Linked DNA regions of Homo sapiens: region 2 is linked to region 1. Evidence: promoter capture Hi-C in 16 types of primary human blood cells and fetal thymus (Javierre and others, 2016). All regions are on one chromosome and are shown on one strand. The core of a region is centred on a gene start or on the middle of the fragment in contact, and the rest is flanking DNA. Distances in the headings are between cores, read along the strand shown. Region 1 holds the start of DDX23 (DEAD-box helicase 23). Region 2 holds the start of TARBP2 (TARBP2 subunit of RISC loading complex).

Region 1 (3,720 bases), core at 1,061-3,560:
AACCCGGTCTCAAAAATAAATAAGTAAATAAGCCAGGTGTGGAGTCTCACGCCTGTAATCCCAGCACTTTGGGAGGCCGAGGCAGGTGGATCACGAGGTCAGGAGATCGAGACCATCCTGGCCAACATGATGAAACCCCGTTCCTACTGAAAATACAAAAATTAGCTGGGTGTGGTGGCATGTGCCTGTAATCCCAGCTACTTGGGAGGTTGAAGCAGGAGAATCGCTTGAACCAGGGAGGTGGAGATTGCAGTGAGCCGAGATTGCACCACTGCACTCCAGCTTGGCGACAGAGCGAGACTCCATCTCAAAAATAAATAAATAAATAAAATAAAATAAAAATACAAACAAATAAGAAAACAAAGATTCATGTTTGTGAGAGAACTAGTGGGGCAAGACAAATAACAAGTATCCTTGAAGCCCAATGTCTTACATGTGTCATGAGATGTGCGCACAAGTACTAGAGGAACTCTGCCACTATGAACTGGGACAAGCTTTATCACCCTCCAGGAGCTCAATTTAAAGAGAGTTGAGATGGCAGCCTGAAAATGGGGAAAGGTAATGGACTCTGAAGTTAAATGAACCTGAATTTTGGCTCCATTCTTTTCTTTTCTTTTTTCTTTCTTTCTTTTTTTTTTTTTTCCAGTCAGGGTTTTGCTCTGTCACCCAGGCTGTAGTGCAGTGGCACGAGCATGGCTCACTGCGACCTCGACCTCCTGGGCTCAAGCAGTCCTCCTGTCTTGGCCTCCCAAAGTGCTGAGATACAAGCATGAGCCACCTCACCTGGCCCATTCTTTTAACTATGTGGCCTTTGAAGGCATAATTACTCTTTCTGGGCCACAATCTCCTTACCAGTAAAATGGAGATAGCACTCATCTCATACTGCTATGAGAACTAAGTAAAACAAATAAGGTAGGTTAAGTGTCCAGCCCAGAGCTGAGCACTTAGAAGATTCTCAATAAAAAGTGGCTGCAGTTTTTGAAGATTCTGGCCTACCATGGTTGGTCTGATTCTTAGTTTAATCTGTGAATCTGTGAGTCGAGCGCCCTCTCGTGCTTTTGTGGTGAATTACACCTAACAGATCTCAGAGCTCTCTTCTTTCCCTTGCGTTCTCTCTGGAGTAGAAGCTGGGAGGTGAAAGGCTGCAGGTTCTAAGAGAAGTGTGTGTCTCCGAGGGTTACTTTGGGCCATTGTACGTGATGCTCAGGGCTTTAGGATTACTTGGGTCTATCCTGAGGCTCTGCTTGAGAGCTTGGGCATATTCAGAGAGAAAAGGCAGACCTACAGCCATGTGGAATTGAAGCAACAAACCTGCTGCTGGCAAAATGGGAAGGGAGGTCCGAGATACTTCTGGTTATCTAAACCGTTTCCGCAACTGCAATGTTTTGTTTTGTTTTGAGGGAAAGAGTTATGAACCCATAAGACCAAAGAGAAACACAAAGTGAACTTACGATTTGAGGTTAAAACAACAACAACAACATCAACAACAACAACAACAGCAACAACAAAACTCAGTGGAAGACTGAAGTAGGGGAATCTGGGGGAAGAAAGAAGCAAAAATACCAAGATAGCTCAACAATTGGTCACATTCCAAAGGGCAAGAAATTGAGGAAACCAGGGTTCCATCTGGAATGTTGAGAAAACAGGTGCTAGAGCCCAGGAGATACCATCCTTCCGGGAGGACTTTAGAGCCCATTGTGTGGGCTCATTTGGAGCTGTAACAATAACTGGGGGTTGTTATGGCATTCACCCGGCTGCAGGGGCCAAGGTTGCTAAAACGTCCTCCTAAGCCTGGGATAGTTCCACACACAATGGAGAACTGCATCACCCTCCTTGTGAACCTACTCCGGTAACCTGATCTTTAGTTTGTCCAACTGTAAAATGGGGCTAGCCCCATTCTCACAGAATTATTATAAAAACCGCTTTTCCACGAATGGTATTTATTGTTACTGCGGTTGTTAGCTATAATTACGTACTACAGATATCTCAGGAAGCCCTTAAATTCCTCCACTGTAAGCCACGGGCAAGGACAGTCATAGACCGTAGTTTCTAGGAAGACCAGCCGATTCCAAGAAGGGTGCTCGGCGGGAGAACCTAATGCCGAAAGCCTATTGGCGAAAAACTCTTCCTTCCCGGACGCTAACGTCTGGCAAACCACATTGCCCGGCAGACCCCGCAGCCTGGGGCCGGCGCTCAAGTCATGCATTCTGGGATTGGTAGTTTCCAGGCCTCAGTGTCGGCCTGTGCCGCCCAGCTCCAGGAACTCGCCTTCCCAGCTTGCCTCGCGGCCGGGGGGGTGGGGGGTGTTCATCTCCGCGACCAGGAAACGGGAAAGATGGCGACGGCTCCGCGACGTTGAGGCCGCGTTGGGCGGTTCAGACTCAGGGTGGTGAGTCCCGGGCGGTGGAGGCGGTTCCCACGAGCTTACAGAAAGGGCTAGAGTCAGGGCACGGCGGTGGCCCCTGCCTCCTGGATGAGGCGGGAAAGAACGCCTCAGAGAAGGGGCATGAACCCGGGAAGCTCGGGCGGGCTGGAGTGAAGGGGCGCGGGCCCCAGGGGTAGTGTTGGCTCCTCCGGGCACAGGCCACGTCCCTGCACGATATTTTCCTCCCAGGACTCTGCCTATGGGCACAGCGCCTCTGATACCCCCAGTCTGACCTTATTCTTTCATGCTTAAAGTAGCCTTTGGTGCAGCCAAACTGGAACTCTGGCTTTTCTCTCGCAGTCAGTCCATGTTTTCCCGCCTCTGCGCCGGCCGTATTATTTCTTTTGCCGGGAATGACTTCTTTTCCGCGTCCTTAATTACATATCTTAAAATTCTACTTATACTTAAAAGCTCAAGCGTCACTTCCTCTTCCAAGCCTTCCACATCACCTTTTACAAGTGAAAGGAAACGCCTTTGAACACCTGTATTACTACATCTGAGCCTTGATACTCTTCTTGGTATGTGTCTCATACCCCCTATTGTTCTTTTTTTTCTTTTCTTTTCTTTTTTTTTTTGAGACGGAGTCTCGCTCTGTCGCCTAGGCTGGAGTGCAATGGCACGATCTTGGTTCTCTGCAACCTCCGCCTCCCGGGTTCAAGCGATTCTCCTGTCTCAGCCTCCCGAGTAGCTGTGATTACAGGCGCACGCCGCCACGCCCGGCTAATTTTTTGTATTTTTAGTAGAGACGGGGTTTCACCGTGTTCCCCAGGCTGGTCTCGAACTCCTGAGCTCAGGCAATCCACCTGTCTCGGCCTCTTAAAGTGTTAGGATTACATGCGTGAGCCACCGCGTCCGACCTCATAACCCTGTTGTTCTAAACACTTCCTGTGAACAGAATTTATTTTTGTAACTCACATAGCACCTAGCACTGTGCCTTGCGTACAGTAGATGCTTGTTAAATACGTCATTGAGTGAAAAAAAAGAATGTGCCCCTGCCCTGCAAGAACTGAGGACCTGAAGATCTGGAGGTTTGAGAGGAAGGCTGCTGGGAAGCATGGCCAGAGTCAGCCTGGTTATTTGGCCCTTGTGATAATAGAACCTGTAATAAAAGTTGCCTGTATTTACTGTCTTCTTCTCATTTTTCATTCTCTTCCAAACTCATTCCACTCAGGCTTCCATTCCCGCAATGCAACTGAAACAGCTCTTGTCAAGGTCACCAATAATCTCCATTTTTCCAAATTCAGTGGTTACTTCCCTGTCCCTTATTCCCTCTCCACTTCGGTGGTACTTGACAC
Region 2 (4,264 bases), core at 67-2,566, 4.6 Mb before region 1:
GGGCGGGGGGAGGAGTCGGGGGGGCGGATACTACCACCTACAATCATTGGTTAGACTGAGGTTTAAAATTAAACGGGAATTTGGTTAAGCACCGGGAACAGAGCCCAGCACGCCAGGCACTCACTCCCCCAAATACTCCACTGGGATTTCAGTTATCTTCTCTTACTTTTCCTCTAGGGTGATGGGGATCTGCCAGATCACTGTGGGAGTCCTGCTCGCTCCTCTAACTCTCCCACGTCCTACCCACCTTCTTACAGCCCTGTTCTCCCAATCCAGTCAGTAGCTTTTCCCCTGAAATCTCTCCTTCCCTCACTGGCCTTGGAGAAAAGGACTGTGAAGAGAGAGACTCCAAGAAACAAAGCCATGGGGACCTGCAAATGCACACCCCAGCCAGGCTGCCCAAGCCTTCCTCACCAGTGCAGCTGGTGTCGCCAACGGTGACCCGGAAGGTGAAATTAGGCTGGTGGGCTTGGCCCTCGGCTTTGAGAAGGTCGTACACAGGCGTCTTCCCTATTCTGGTCCCATACTCCTGCAGAAGGCTGATCGGGGTCTTGCCTGGGTTGGCGGCCAGCATTTGCTCTATACTGGGGGAAGGGGCACAGACCCACATCACACCTCCCCTCTCTGCACCCACCTAGCCAAGCACTTCCATACCAGACCTAGGCACATTATGGGGGACATAGGGTCCAAGGAACCCCAGACAGTCTAGCATCCATTGGCTGGGTTCCAAGTGGAGGTGCAGGCTGGAAAAGTAGGGCCCACTACCCCAAAGCAAGGGGGGAAGAATGCATTGCTCCTGCCTCAGTTAAGGTGGGCACGATCCTGTGCCCCAATGCAGGTTGAAAGTGCATACCCCCTGACACAGTGCAAGCCAGGAACCCAGTACCCACCAAATGCACTGAATGTGGGGGCATAAAGCCCAGTGTTCCAGTGCAGTCTGGGAACCGGGCCAACCCCAAACTATTTAGAGCTGGAGGCAGCAGCCACTGCCCCGGTGCACGCCGGGAACCACTGCCCACTGCCCCAGTGCTTGCCGGGAACAACCCTCAGGCCAGGTGCATGCTGGGGCCGCGCCGCTACTCCCTCCGCACGGCCCCACGCTTTTCGCCCTGAAGGAATCGGTACGAGACGGCTCACCTAGGCAGCCCGCAGCCCGTGGTAGTGCCGGAGCCTTGCTCCTCTTCACTCATTCCCTCCTCCGTCCCCGCGGGCGCCACCGTGACTGCAGCCTCCACGCGCCCCAATACACAGCCGACGAGCTAGGGCCGGGGCCAAGCCCGGAGTCGCGGCCGGTAGGGCCCGCCGCGGGGCACGCTGGGATATGGAGTCCCCCGCCCACCCTACTTCGTGAGCCTCCATCTGGAGGGGAGCTATCCGCCCCACAACCCTCTGCGTGCGTGGCTCGCCCGGGCAGGCTGCACCGCCTTCTGGGAGGAGCGGGCCCTCCGCCGTCGCTTCTCGAGAAGGCCGTATTTTTTTGTTTGTAATACCGTCCCGCCTCCTTCCTTCCGCGCCCCCTCTCTCCCGGTCCGTGAAGCTGTGGACATGCGTACTAGCGGAGGGGAAGCCGCTGGGTAGGGAGGCGGTAAGGACTCACTTGGGCACGGAGCCTTTTGGATCGCGAGAAAACTACAGAACCCAAGAGCCCGCGCGCCATCTGTGTCGCAGCTGGAGAGGCAGGGTCAAGCACGCACGAGAAGCTTCATGGCGTCATTGGTTACTCCCATTGCGATTACTTCCCCTAGGTGCACTGAGATTGGTTACTTCGACTAAAGGGGCGGAGACAAGGAAAAGTCAGCCCCCCCCGACCCCGCCTCCTTGATGAAGGAAGGTTGTGATTGGTCCGGAGAGGCTGCCGTCGGATCCTGGCTCTTTGCGGTCTGGGAGGGTGGGCCTTACCTAGACGCCGGAGGGGACCGATCTCTGTTTCCGCAGGGCTCTGGAGCTGGTGCAGGTTTAAGTCCGTCTCAGACAGTCCCCTCAACCCACAGCCTAAGCCCCTTGCCCTTGGGCCTCCGTGACACAGAACTTGCTTCCTTTTCCTAGGTCGTCCTTCACCTCCCTTCAGGTGTTGCTTCTTTTGTGAAACCTTTTTAGAACCGCTCTAGTGAACCTCTCTTTAACTGGCGAGGAAACCTCTGGGGCCTGATAATCAGGCTGTAATGTGGGACGACAGGATTAGAAGGACTAGGCACCTTGGTGGTCTTGTTCCCTCTTCCATGAGTCTTGGGTCTCTCAGCTGAAGAGAGCAAAAGTGAATTTTGGCCGCCTAAGATTAATCAACTGATCTGGGTGTTGAGCAGACGCGCATTGTTTAGTCCTAGAGCCCCATTGCCTCCTCCCCCAAAGTTGCACAACCACTGGGCTGAGGGAAATCTTGTGACCTTGGAGAGAGAAAGGGAGAGACCACATTAAAAAAAAAAAAGGTTCTAATGAGTGTTCTGAGAAGGGGTCAAGAAAGATGTCTTACTCTGAGCCGGGGTTGGAGGTCCAGAGGAATCTTGAAATGATAATGAGGGGTCATCCAGGAACACTGGAGGAGGATGGGGCCTAGAGCCGAGTGAATTCCAAGTGGGTGAAATTGGAGTGAGTGGTGACAATCAAGGGAAGGAGAGCTGGCAAGATCGGTATGATAGGGGGAGCAATGCCAGAGCGCTAGGGATCCCAACTGAGGGGCTGCTCTCTCCGATGTAGAAAGGAGTCTATAAGACGGGTCATAGGGGGTTCCTGTGGAATCAGCCTGAGGCCTGAGGTGGGACCTCCATAGGACACCGCCAGCAGGGAGGCGCGGGGCCCAGGCGGGCCAGGTACGAGCCTGGAGCGCGCCGGATGGCAGCAGCGGGCTCCTTTAAGAGGCCGGCGGCTCCATCGCAGCATCCCCCGCTCAGGGCGTGTCCGTCCCGGGGGGCCAGGGGCGGGGGCCCTGGAAGGAGCGGGAGTTCAAGCCGAGCAGGGACGGGGCTAGGGGTCGGGGGGTGGGGGCAGAAAGCTGAAGCTGACACCCGTGCATCCGGACACCGCACGAGCATCGCCTGTGACAGCGCCCCGGGTCCGGTGGAGGGCAGCGGGGGGAGGAGGGAAGGAGGAGGAGAAGGAGGAGGAGGCGGGAGCAGCATCCGGAGCGGAGCTGCAGCAGCGCCGCCTTTTGTGCTGCGGCCGCGGAGCCCCCGAGGTGAGAGCCTGGCCGAGTTGTGGGGGGGTGGGGGGCAGGGATGGGTCTGGGTCCTGGGATCCGGGCGTGGAGGGAGGGTCGGGATGCAGATGTGGCCTGGTGCGGGGTGATGGCGTGGGGATGCTGAGGCTGTGGGGATGGAGGAACTGGGGACCTGGACCCGACGCCTGTGGGGCTGGGAAGGAAGGGAATGGAGCGGAGGGATGCCGCGGCCCAGCTTGGAGACGAAGGGCCTCCAGAGCTGGAAAGGACCGTATTGGGGTGGGGTGGAGGATGATTGGGGGACAGACTTAAAGGACAGAGGGCAAGAGAACATCTCCTCCCACTCATCCTCAGGAAGAGAGAGAGGGAAGGAGGAGGGAGAGTTTTGGCCCCCTCTAGGGAAGGAAAGGAAGGGCAAGGACTGATATACCCACCATCTCCACACACACACACACACACACACACACACACACACACACACACACACACACACACACACACACACACACACACACACACACACACACACACACACAGCAGGCTGGACCTGAAGATTAGTCAGAGAGCACCTGTTCCTGCATGCCCAGGCGTTGGTCCCCCTCCCCTTCAAGCTGTGATCCTCCTAATCCCCTCCAGCTGTGGCATTCACCTCCAGCTGTGGCATTCACCTCCATCCAGCTGTTGCATCCTCCCCTCCCCCATTCACGTGTGGGTTTCTCCCTCCTCTTTCTCTCCATCTCCTCTGGCTCCCCTAACCCATCTCCCCCAGTCAGGCCCTCCAAAAACCTCCTCCCTTTCCCACAAACACTCCTCAAACTCATTGGCTTAAAAATAAACAAGAGTTGAGACTTGCTGGTAACCAAGGCCTTGACTGAGAGGAGGGAAGAGTCAAGGCTCTGTAGACAGTGGGAGGAAACAGTGAGGTGTCCCTTAGAATTAAGGGAGGAGTCCTACCTTGTAGATGCTCATCTGCTGCCTTTTTCAGAGGAGCGTAGGTGAGTGGCCTCCAATCAGAAGGGAGTGCACATGAGGTCTCCTCACCCCACCCAGAGTCGTCTCAAGCCACAGTCAGTGCATCCCTCTAAACACATTTCCCTTGCAGTTCTCAAG

Evidence for each region. The method cuts DNA at HindIII sites, captures the fragments that hold promoters and counts their contacts. A CHiCAGO score of 5 or more calls a contact.
Region 2: a contact is called between the fragment with the promoter of TARBP2 here and the fragment with the promoter of DDX23 in region 1, in 2 of 17 cell types (monocytes and total CD8 T cells). The highest score is 6.9, in monocytes.

Annotation. Positions count from the first base shown.
Region 1 is chr12:48,850,753-48,854,472 of GRCh38, reverse strand. It overlaps DDX23 (DEAD-box helicase 23), which reads left to right and starts at 2,310. Exons shown (of 17, transcript NM_004818.3): 1 at 2,310-2,389. LOC105369755 (a long non-coding RNA gene) reads right to left here and starts at 2,752. Exons shown (of 2, transcript XR_944925.3): 1 at 2,659-2,752; 2 at 1,924-2,423. RefSeq lists enhancers at 1,176-1,385, 2,265-2,454. The HindIII fragment of the contact is 5,632 bases long and covers 497-3,720 here.
Region 2 is chr12:53,498,335-53,502,598 of GRCh38, reverse strand. It overlaps TARBP2 (TARBP2 subunit of RISC loading complex), which reads right to left and starts at 1,316. Exons shown (of 9, transcript NM_134323.2): 1 at 1,138-1,316; 2 at 415-584. The coding sequence starts at 1,190. It overlaps MAP3K12 (mitogen-activated protein kinase kinase kinase 12), which reads left to right and starts at 3,141. Exons shown (of 14, transcript NM_001193511.2): 1 at 3,141-3,172. RefSeq lists an enhancer at 1,382-1,681 and a silencer at 2,775-3,024. The HindIII fragment of the contact is 9,076 bases long and covers 1-1,702 here.